Regions from separate parts of the Homo sapiens genome. Here regions 1 and 3 are each linked to region 2. Evidence: promoter capture Hi-C in 16 types of primary human blood cells and fetal thymus (Javierre and others, 2016). All regions are on one chromosome and are shown on one strand. Each heading gives the region's core, a stretch centred on a gene start or on the middle of the fragment in contact. The rest is flanking DNA. Distances are from core to core; before and after follow the strand shown. Region 1 overlaps HAUS6 (HAUS augmin like complex subunit 6). Region 2 holds the start of RPS6 (ribosomal protein S6). Region 3 overlaps HAUS6 (HAUS augmin like complex subunit 6).

Region 1 (3,533 bases), core at 842-3,341, 300 kb before region 2:
GAGAATTTATAATGAACTAGTACAGTATCATCTTCCTACTAAGAAACTTCATACTGTCTGTACTATATGATGTAGTACTGTACAGGTAAGGGGCAATTAATAAAAGTGAATATAAATATACACACCTTTAACAGTATCACTCCTTATGAAAGTTTTACTAAACACACTCATAGAAATAAATTCTGGCCGGGTGCGGTGGCTCACGCCTGTAATCCCAGCACTTTGGGAGGCCAAGGTGGGTGGATCACCTGAGGTCAGGAGCTCGAGACCAGCCTGACCAACATGGAGAAACCCCGTCTACTAAAAATACAAAATTAGCTGGGTGTGGTGGCACATGCCTGTAATCCCAGCTACTCGGGAGGCTGAGGCAGGAGAATCTCTTGAACCTGGGAGGCGGAGGTTGCAGTGAGCTGAAACCACGCCACGCCATTGCACTCCAGCCTGGGCAATAAGAGCAAAATTCTGTCTCAAAAAAAAAACAAAAAACAAAAAACAAAAAACAAATTCTGAAAGCAGAAGAACATTGCAAGAAAATATACAATTACATGATAGGAGTTTTCTCAAAAGCTTCCTTAATATCAAATGCTTACCTGAAACATTTGTTTCTCAATTTTGTCAAGTAAGAGCCTTGGAATATTAATAGCAACATTAGTTCCATCTAAAGCATATTGGTTAACAAGACTAAGGACCGAACTAACAACTTCTCTCTCTTTTTCCAAAAACATGAGCGTTTCATTCACTGAAGCCCACAAAGACCGAACCTTTGGAAACAGAAACAAAATATTAAAGTCCACACATAATCTGTACATATTTTAAAAATGTAAATGTATGTTCACTCTTAGTAACAAATTTCCTAGAATGATTTCTAGTAAGAAAATTAAATAATTATACTTTAATAGTTTAAAAGTCCCTTTGGATATTATTTCCAAAGGGAATTTTTAAAAAAATGTATCAGGAGAATCTAGCTCACTATAATTTTCAAACAAATCTAAGAATTTTTTTGTTTTCAGAGATGGGGTCTTACTATGTTGCCCAGGCCAGACTCAAACTCCTGGGCTCAAGCAATCTTCCCACATCAGCCTCCCAAGTAGCTGGGACTACAGGCACGCACCACTGCACCCAGCTCCAAATCTAAGAAATCTTATACAAGATACAATTAGCATTTTCTATATGCTGACATGTAATTAATCGAATGAAGATCATTCAGGGAGAAATAATTTTAAAAATTTTTCAAGAGAAGCCGGGCGCAGTGGCTCACGTCTGTAATCCCAGCCCTTTGGGAGGCCGAGGCAAGCAGATCACGAGGTCAGGAGATAGAGACCATCCTGGCTAACACGGTGAAACCCCGTCTCTAATAAAAATACAAAAACTTAGCCAGGCGTGGTGGCAGGTGCCTGTAATCCCAGCTACTCGGGAGGCTGAGGCAGAAGAATGGTGTGAACCCGGCAGGCGGAGCTTGCAGTAAGCCAAGATCGCGCCACTGCACTCCAGCCTAGGGGACAGAGCAAGACTCCATCTCAAAAAAAAAAAAAAAATTTTTTTTCAAGAGAAAAAAACTACTACATCTCAATTTTAAGTCATTCAGTTTGAGGAAGTTAAAGTGTAAAAAATTATGCCTCATTAAAAGCAAAAAATCTTAGGCATATACTAATCTATATTCATTAAAATTGATATACAAGAATATTTAGGCACGCACAGTGGCGCATACCTGTAATCCCAGCTACTCAGAAGGCTGAGGTAAAAGGATCCCTTAAGCCCAGGATCCTTGCAAAAAAAAAAAAAAAAAGAATACTCATAGAATGTCTATTTGTAACAATCAAAAAGTAGAATCAATCCAAAGGTCCATCCAGAGTAAAAAGGGTACATTGGTGCTATATTCATAAAATAGAACACTAAGCAGCAATGAGAATAAACATACTACAATTACACACAACAGCATGGATAAATATCATAAACAATGTTGAGCCAAAGTCAGACACAAAAGAATATATTCTATATACTGGCATTTATATGAAGTTCAAAAACAGGCAAAACTAATCTTTAGTGTAACATGTGAGGGCACTGTTTCCCCGTGGGGGCAAACAGTGTAAACTAAACAGGTTCAAGGAGGATTCTAGGGTGCTGGTAACATCCTATTCCTTAAATGATGATGGTTACATGGACTTGTTCACTTTGTGAAAATTTGTCAAGCTATATACTTATGAGTTACACATTTCTTGTATATATGTTATGCATTAACAGAATTTACAAAAGAGGGAGGGAGGTGGAGAAATATAATTATACACATGTTCTTCCTGCACGATAAAAATACAATATTAAATATCTCTAATTAGTTCACTTTTTTTCTTTTTTCTTTTTTTTTTTTTTTGAAACAAGGTCTCACTCTGTCACCCAGGCTGGAGTGCAGTGGCACAATCTTGGCTCACTGCAACCTCTGCCTCCCAGGTTCAAGTGATTCTTGTGCCTCAGTCACCCAAATAGCTGGGACTACAGGTGAGTACCACCACACCAGACTACTTTTTTATTTTTGGTAGAGACAGGGTTTCACCATGTTGGCCAGGCTGGCCTCAAACTCCTGGCCTCAAGTGATCCAACCATATCGGCCTCCCAAAGTGCTCACAGGCGTGAGCCACTGTACCCCCGCCTCTTTTTTTTTTCTTTTTTAAGACGGGTCTCGCTCTGTTGCCCAGGCTACAGTCCACTGGCACAACCAGAGCACACTGCAGCCTTGAGCTCCTGGGCTCAAACAATCCTCCTGCCTCAGCCTCCTGAGTAGGTGAAACTATAGGTGTGTGCCACCCTAAATATCTCTGACATGTTGTATGGCAAGGTAAAGTTGTTCCCAAAGGAAGACTCATTGGCTAGCAGTCTAGAGGTCTCACAGAATGGCATTTCCTTGATGAATCTGTAATTGTCCAGGATCTGGTTCTCATATTTTCCAAGTCTAGATTTTTATCTTGACAATGGCTCAAAGTTGACTGTACTCAGGGAAAACAAATATGAACCAAACTCAGAAGAGACTGATGTGAAAACTTTAATAGGTTCTGCAAATTATTTTAATTATATAATTTGCAATCAGAGATTCATTAAATGGAAAATTCCATGAAGGAAGTGACTTTGCCTTGCCTGTTCTCCTCATTGTTGTAGCCCTAATGTCTACGAGATACCTAGCACATATCAGATGATCAATACATTCACTGAATAAAAATATTTCCTGAAGAGGGCGCTAACCTTTACAGGTGACAATGTGCCTTGGAAGCCAAATTTATACCCACAGCAGCTTGGCATGGCAATCACAGAATCACAACAAAGAGCTTGAGAGAGATTTTATCCAAAAAAAAAAAAAAAGAAAACCTAAGAAAATACTTAACTCACATCAAAGCCAAACTCTGGAGGCCTCAGATCATTTTCATTTGTCAGAATCCTCCCTCCTGCCAAACCAGACTCATTTTGATTCCTCATTTTCCTTTCATACTTAACATCTCCCTTCAGTTAATCCATTTTATTTAGATAAATTAATACCACTGACTAGG
Region 2 (3,501 bases), core at 560-3,059:
TTGAAAAGTTTGCGGATTCTGCTAGCTCTTTTGGGGCCCAGGCGGCGAGGCACTGTAGTATCAGTCAGTCCAGGAATATCCTTCTCTCCTTAGAAGAAACAGTTGAAGAGATTTTAATTCAACAACTTCCTTAAGAATCCTAAATCAGAATGTTTAATGTTGAATTGATGGTAGAGAAACAAATCCATTGGTCTGTAAGTCTGGATACTGCAAATGAATAAGCATTTGGACAACTGGCTTTAAATCAATTTCAACGAAAATTGAACACAAGTAACCCTCACCTTTTTTTACAATAACCAAGTTGAGAACGCTCAGATTTGCATCCACAATGCAACCACGAACTGATTTTCTCTTTCTTTCTCCAGTTCTCCTTGGTCTGTAACAGGAATGCCCCTTACTCAGTAGCAGGCGGACACGGCCATGGGTCAAGACACCCTGCTTCATGGGGAAACCTTGTTTGTCGTTCCCACCACTGATTCGGACCACATAACCCTGCAAGAGCATACAATGAATGACACATTTACTATTTCTATTCCAAAATTATACAGTACAGGATTGTGACCTCTGTGAACACACCTATATGAGAAAGTATAATTATGAAAACCAATTTGAACTTAAGCACGTTTTCTCTGTTCAGTGAGTTTTGTCTATATTCCCAACTTGTCAAGTTCAATTATCAAATGTCTTTCAAGTCGCATTTCTAACCGATGTTTTATTAGAGATAACAGCACTAAGAAGATAAAATATCAAACAGCAACAAACAAATCAGATACAACCCTTTTTGGCACTTTGGGGATTATGAGGACAGCTATGTGACATATTGCCAAATGCATGATGCAGGGCAAGAATTATGTTGATGTAAACTTTACGTATATTTTATGGCTTACTCTACGTCCCCCCCTCCAAGGTAATACCTCTAACTTTATAAAGTGGCATTCGGAAGCAACTTACCAAAGGTCAGAAGCCAGAACCCGGAGTCTGAACCCCATTCCAAATACCAGTTACCAATGGCGTTTACCGTCTCTGACTTAAATACCTGCAACAATTTGTCAACTTTTACCTTCCATTCTTCACCCAGAGCGTCAGCAGCAACTTCTGTGGCCATACGCTTCTCATAGAAAGTACGAAGTTTGCGTTCATCGTCCACTTCAATGAGTTTCTGGCAGCCAGTGGCTGGGAAGGAGATGTTCAGCTAAGGATTAAAAGGGGGGAAATAGTTTACGAAACTATCTATACAGGTAATTGTAGAGCCATCTACAAAGTTAATTCCACTGCAAAAAGCCTTTCATGTTGCCTCCACACAAGCAGGAAATATAAGATGCCGACTGTACTCACTAAAAGCACGTGAAAGCAGAGTAGCAGTCAAGAAGCGCCGCACTCAGCAGGACGTTTTCCCCTCAAGCCCCGCGGAATGACTCTGGGGGCGAGGGCACTCCGCAGCCGTTCACCCTCCCGAAGCAAGAAAGCCGGGGTCAAGAGCCGCACCACAGGCCTGCCGCAAACTGGGCAACACGCCGCATCCGTCCCGGCTGGGCGCGGGGACGCCACCATGGCGCTCCCGGCCCGCCGCGGCTCCAGCCGCAATCGCCTGCCATCCGTTCGGCCAAAAAGCTCCATGCCCCAGAAAGGCGAGCCTTCTCCTACTTGAGACCCTTCTCCACCTAAAGCCAGGATCCTGGAGTGCTGGAACTGAGGCAATGCCGCGTTCTGGGACTCGATTCACGTTCCCCAAACCCAGTCTAACACTCGCCACCATCACCTACCTTCATCTTGAAGCAGCTGAACGCCTCCGAGGCGCCACGGAAAAGAGGGCCAACTTCCGCTTAGCGCAGGTCACATAGGCGCTTTCAGTTCTCGCGAGATGAGCAGAAGTACGGGATAGCGGAAGTGAGCATGGGTGGGCGGTACTTCCGGGCGAGATTAATCAGGGCCTGGGAGGTAAAGTCGGTTGGGTGTGGGTCTGAGGTTGTGCCAGTGGTGGTAGTCTGGTAAGGCAAACCCGCGTGTAATTCTGAGGGCTAACCCCTTCCCTGTCTAGTCTTTTCCACGCTGCCTGGGTTTTGGAGCTGGGCGCCAGCGGAGCCCCACTTCTGTCCCAGGCACTTTGCATCTGACGGTACCAAAATAGGAGGGCAAGGCCGGGCGCGGTGGCTCACGCCTGTAATCCCAGCACTTTGGGAGGCCGAGGCGGGCGGATCATCTTAGGTCAGGAGTTCGAGACCAGCCTGGCCAACATGGCGAAACTCCGTCTCTAATAAAAATAGGTAAAATAGCCAAAAATAGGTAAAATAGCCAGGCGTGGTGGGGGGCGACTGTAGTCCCAGTTACTAGGGAGGCTGAGGCACGACAATCGCTTGAGCCCAAGAGGCGGAGGTTGCAATGAGTCCAGATCGCACCACTGCACTGCAGCCCAGGCGACAGAGAGAGACTCCGCCTCAAAAAAGTTCGAGTTCGAGACCAAGTAAACAAGAATAATTTTTACTATCTAAAACTATCACATACCATCTCCCCACTTTAGTGTCACAAAGGTTTGAGTTTAGGACTGTTTTACATTCGAAGTTGAACGATTCTACTGAATCCTCTTTGATCATCTCACATTAATTCATGGAATCTTGGTGAAATGATGCTTTTTAAAATCTGAGTACTGTGTGTCATTTTTTTGTTGAGGTGAAATTGACATAACTAGTCATTTTAAAGTGAACAATTCAGTGGCATTTAGTACATTCACAATGCTGTACAACCACCATCTCTATCGATACAGTTCCAAAACATTTTCATCATCCTAAAAGAAAACCCTGTACCCTGTTAAAGCAGTTGCTGCCCCTTCCCCATTTCGACCAGGCCTGGCAACCACCAATCTGTGTTCTGTCTCAGTGGATGTACCTACTTCATAAAAATGGAATCATACAATATTGACCTTTTGTATCTGTCTTCTAATCTTTTGAGTCGTAGCATGTATCAGTACTTCACTGCTTTTATGGCTCAATATTCTAGTGTAGATATAGACTGCAGTTTGTTTATCCATTCCTCCATAAATAGACATTTGGGTTGTTTCTGCCTTTTAACTACTGTAAATAGTTCTTCTATGTTTGAGTACTTGTTTTAAATTATTTTAGGTATATACCTAAGAGTGAAATTGCTGGGTCATATAGTAGTTCTATTCTCAACTCAGGGAGAAACTGAAACTGTATTCCAAAGCAGCTGAACCATTTTACATTCCCACCGGCAATGTATGAGGACCGCACTTTATCAAAATCATGGCCAACACTTGTTATTTTTTTAATTTTTTAAAAATTTATTGTAGGGACAGGGTCTCGCTTTGTTGCTCAAAGTGAGATCCTGTTGGTCTGGAACTCTTGGCCTCCAGCATCCTCCTGTCTCAGCCTCTGGAGTAGCTGAGACTCATTGTGGTTTTGATTTGCATTTCCCTAATGACTAATGATGTTGAGCATGTTTTAATGTGTTTGTTGGCCATTTGTATATCTTCTTTAGAGAAAAGTC
Region 3 (3,343 bases), core at 780-3,279, 320 kb before region 2:
GAAAATATTTGTTTTTGATTTTGTTTTTTGAAACAGGGTCTCAGTCTGTCACTCAGGCTGGAGTGCAGTGATGCAAACACAGCTCACTGCAGCCTCAGTCTCCTGGGCTTTAAGTGATCCTCCACCTCAGCCTCACCAGTAAGTAGCTGGGACTTCAGAGACACGCCCCCATGCTCAACTGTTTTTTTAATTTTTTTGTAGAGATGGGTTTCGCCATGTTGCCCATGCTGGTCTCGAACTTCTGGGCTCAAATGTTCCTCTTGCCGAAACCTCCCCAAGTGTTGGGATTACAGACATGGGCCACTGTGCCCATCCAATAACTGATATTTAAGTATACTCATTACAGTCTTTTCTCACCTCTTCTACCAGATGATCTTGCTCTTTTTGAAATGGATCACTTTTTTTAGCTGGCAAAGACCCTCCAAATGCACTACTCTCTGTATTCTTTGCAACATCTGATAATGGAGAATTTTCCACTTCAAATTCTGGTATTTTCTTAGAAATTGCTTCATTTTTTTCTTTGGGAGTTCCCATCTTTGTGTCCTGAAGAAGACAGATATGTAATGTTAAACCCTTAATAATCATGGCTGATCCTGAAGCTGTCTTCATTAGCAGTTCACTGGTTATCATGAACCTATAAAAGGTTGTTAATACTATTGTGAAATTGTATGTCACTGGCAGAATTAACTAATTCCAATATTCCCACTTAGCAATAAGGAATATAAGTAGATATGGTACAAAATGTACAAATAGTAGAAAATGTGAAATTAGAAATTAAATTTAACTGTGGTATCAACAAAAATAAATAATATTTTATAATTTAGTATGGTCCAGAATTAATTGAGACTTATTTTAAAATATACCTTTTCAAGTACTGTAACACTGTTTCTATCTGATGATGAAACTGACTGCGACAAGAAAGAGGCAGGGCTAAAAGGAAAAAAGACAACAAATCCAAGTTATAAGGAGAAAAGAATTCCATTCCCTTTACGAGTCTATTCTAAAATCTGTCTGCCCCGTATCTGTCCGTTACGATTTCACTCAATTCGTCCCGGTCATCAAAAGGCAGTTTATTCTAGGGAGGCATGGTGACAAGTAGAGCAGTATTTCAGCCCAATTTGTGTATCAGCCTCCCAATTATGAAGACTTTACTTACCACATACTGAGTCAACAATATTTTGATTTGAAAGAGTTAAGTGACTTAATGAATACTCCACAACTTGAACACAGGTTAAAAACAGATTCAATTAACTAGAACTGCATTATTACAATGTCACAGGTTCCAAATCACAGTTTCTTTGTAGCAGATCCTTTATTTTATTTTTTTTTTTTTTGAGACGGAGTTTCGCTCTTGTTGCCCAGGCTAGAGTGCAATGGCGCGATCTTGGCTCACCACGACCTCCGCCTCCCAGGTTCAAGCGATTCTCCTGCCTCAGCCTCCTGAGTAGCTGGAATTACAGGCATGCGCCACAACACCTGAGTAATTTTGTCTTTTTAGTAGAGATGGGCTTTCTCCATGTGAGTCAGGCTGGTCTCAAACTCCCGACCTCAGGTGATCCGCCCACCTTGGCCTCCCAAAGTCCTAGGATTACAGGTGTGAGCCACCACACCTGGCCCAGCAGACTTATTTTTAAGATTCTCTTGATACTTCATATCCAAAATCAATTTCTCATATGCTAAATTTTACTCTATAGCAAACATGTTACAGTTTCACAGTAATGTCATAAGGTCAGAGTTTTAGTTTGCCACATTCTGTTGTATTTGTTAATCTTTTGTATTCCCTTGCCCTTTTGGATAAATATTAAAATTTATGCAGCTTTTCATGCTAATTATAAAATGTTATTAAATTCTAAAATCTTCAAAGAAATGGTAACTTTTTTACTTTGGTCTTAAAAACCTTTAAAAGTTAAAAGCCTAAAGCTTTTCTACTCTAGTTACTATAAGACAGGATTATCAAAGACTGCTTTCAACAGCATGCATGTTGGTACTTTCCTTTCTTCTTATAACTAGAAGTACAAAATTAATAGCACTGCAAATATTTTATATCATAGTAAATGTAATTTTCAAACTTTTTCAAATATGCACTCTTAGAGTCTTTGCCTACGTTCCAAACATAATTCAAAATCACTGCAATCACTCAAGCTTCAACGTAGCATTGACAAAATATAATCCAGATATCAAAGGCAAAGAATTGATCATCTACTAGATTTTGAGGGAAACTTAACATTAAAATTATCAAAAAGCCCCCTGAAACAGAGCCAGCAATCTATGGACCAATGCCACTAAGGTGCCACCACCACAAGAAGGTAAGGACAAAGGCTATGTCTTTCCCTAAGGCTATTCCCAGAGGCTAACACAGTGGTTGGTAGTGCAATACATACATGTTAACTATTTGATGGATTGATGGAATCGATGAGTAAATGCCACTTGAGAATGGGGTTCTATAGGTGACAAGTGTTTCCATTTGAATGATTCTTGTGGAACCTTATAGCAGAGAACAATGGAAACATTCTGTACCCTCCCCTCTCTCATTTCTGAACTGGCAACATGCTATTAAACCTGCTAACATCATAATCTAAGACAAGTTTAAAGCAGCCCTGGCTCAGTCTTTATACTTCGTCCATTTGCCATGCCAAGATTGAGGCCTATGAAATCCTAGCACTGTAACAAAACAGAAGGATGGTGATCCCCTTGTGGAAATTTATCCTAAGGGAAGAACAGAGAGAAAAAAGAGGAACACACTTTTTATAGTAGTAAAAAATAAAATTGAGAGAAAATTCAAGTCTACAAATAAATGTAGTGTTACAAAGCTATTATCAATGAAAATTGGTTAATATGTTATTTAAACATACAGACAGCCAAAAAAAAATCACAACCGTTTATACTATGTTAATGTTTTAAAATTTTGGGCTGGGCGCGGTGGCTCACGCCTGTAATCCCACCACTTTGGGAGGCTGAGGCAAGCGGATCACCTGAGGTCAGGAGTTGAAGACCAGCCTCGCCAACATGATGAAACCCCATATCTACTAAAAATACAAAAATTAGCCAGGTGTGGTCATGGGCGCCTGTAATCCCAGCTACTCGGGAGGCTGAAGCAAGAGAATCGCTTGAACCCAGGAGGCAGCAGTTGCAGTGAGCCGAGATCGTGCCATTGCACTCCAGCCTGGGCAACAGGAACGAAACTCCGCCTCAAAAATAAATTAATGAATAAAATTTTGTACTTTAGAATTCTGCATTTTAAAATTTGTATTTAGATTGTATCCATCCTTTGATCACAGCCAAAAATTTTTTTTTTTTTTTTTTGAGACAGACTCTCACTCTGTCGCCCACACTGGAGTGCAGT

The links. The method cuts DNA at HindIII sites, captures the fragments that hold promoters and counts their contacts. A CHiCAGO score of 5 or more calls a contact.
Region 1: a fragment that was not itself captured here is called in contact with the fragment with the promoter of RPS6 in region 2 in 9 of 17 cell types (total CD8 T cells, non-activated CD4 T cells, erythroblasts and 6 more); the score reaches 11.0 in total CD8 T cells.
Region 3: a contact is called between a fragment that was not itself captured here and the fragment with the promoter of RPS6 in region 2, in 15 of 17 cell types (erythroblasts, activated CD4 T cells, fetal thymus and 12 more). The highest score is 13.5, in erythroblasts.

Annotation. Positions count from the first base shown.
Region 1 is chr9:19,082,283-19,085,815 of GRCh38, forward strand. It overlaps HAUS6 (HAUS augmin like complex subunit 6), which reads right to left. Exons shown (of 17, transcript NM_017645.5): 8 at 591-761. Among named protein-coding and RNA genes, the nearest start is that of HAUS6, 19 kb to the right of the region's middle. The HindIII fragment of the contact is 3,053 bases long and covers 566-3,533 here.
Region 2 is chr9:19,378,427-19,381,927 of GRCh38, forward strand. RPS6 (ribosomal protein S6) reads right to left here and starts at 1,810. Exons shown (of 6, transcript NM_001010.3): 1 at 1,764-1,810; 2 at 1,061-1,192; 3 at 282-492; 4 at 1-88. The coding sequence starts at 1,769. RefSeq lists an enhancer at 1,125-2,324. The HindIII fragment of the contact is 12,269 bases long and covers 1-3,501 here.
Region 3 is chr9:19,062,651-19,065,993 of GRCh38, forward strand. HAUS6 (HAUS augmin like complex subunit 6) reads right to left here. Exons shown (of 17, transcript NM_017645.5): 13 at 864-930; 14 at 358-543. It also overlaps SCARNA8. Among named protein-coding and RNA genes, the nearest start is that of RRAGA, 15 kb to the left of the region's middle. The HindIII fragment of the contact is 222 bases long and covers 1,919-2,140 here.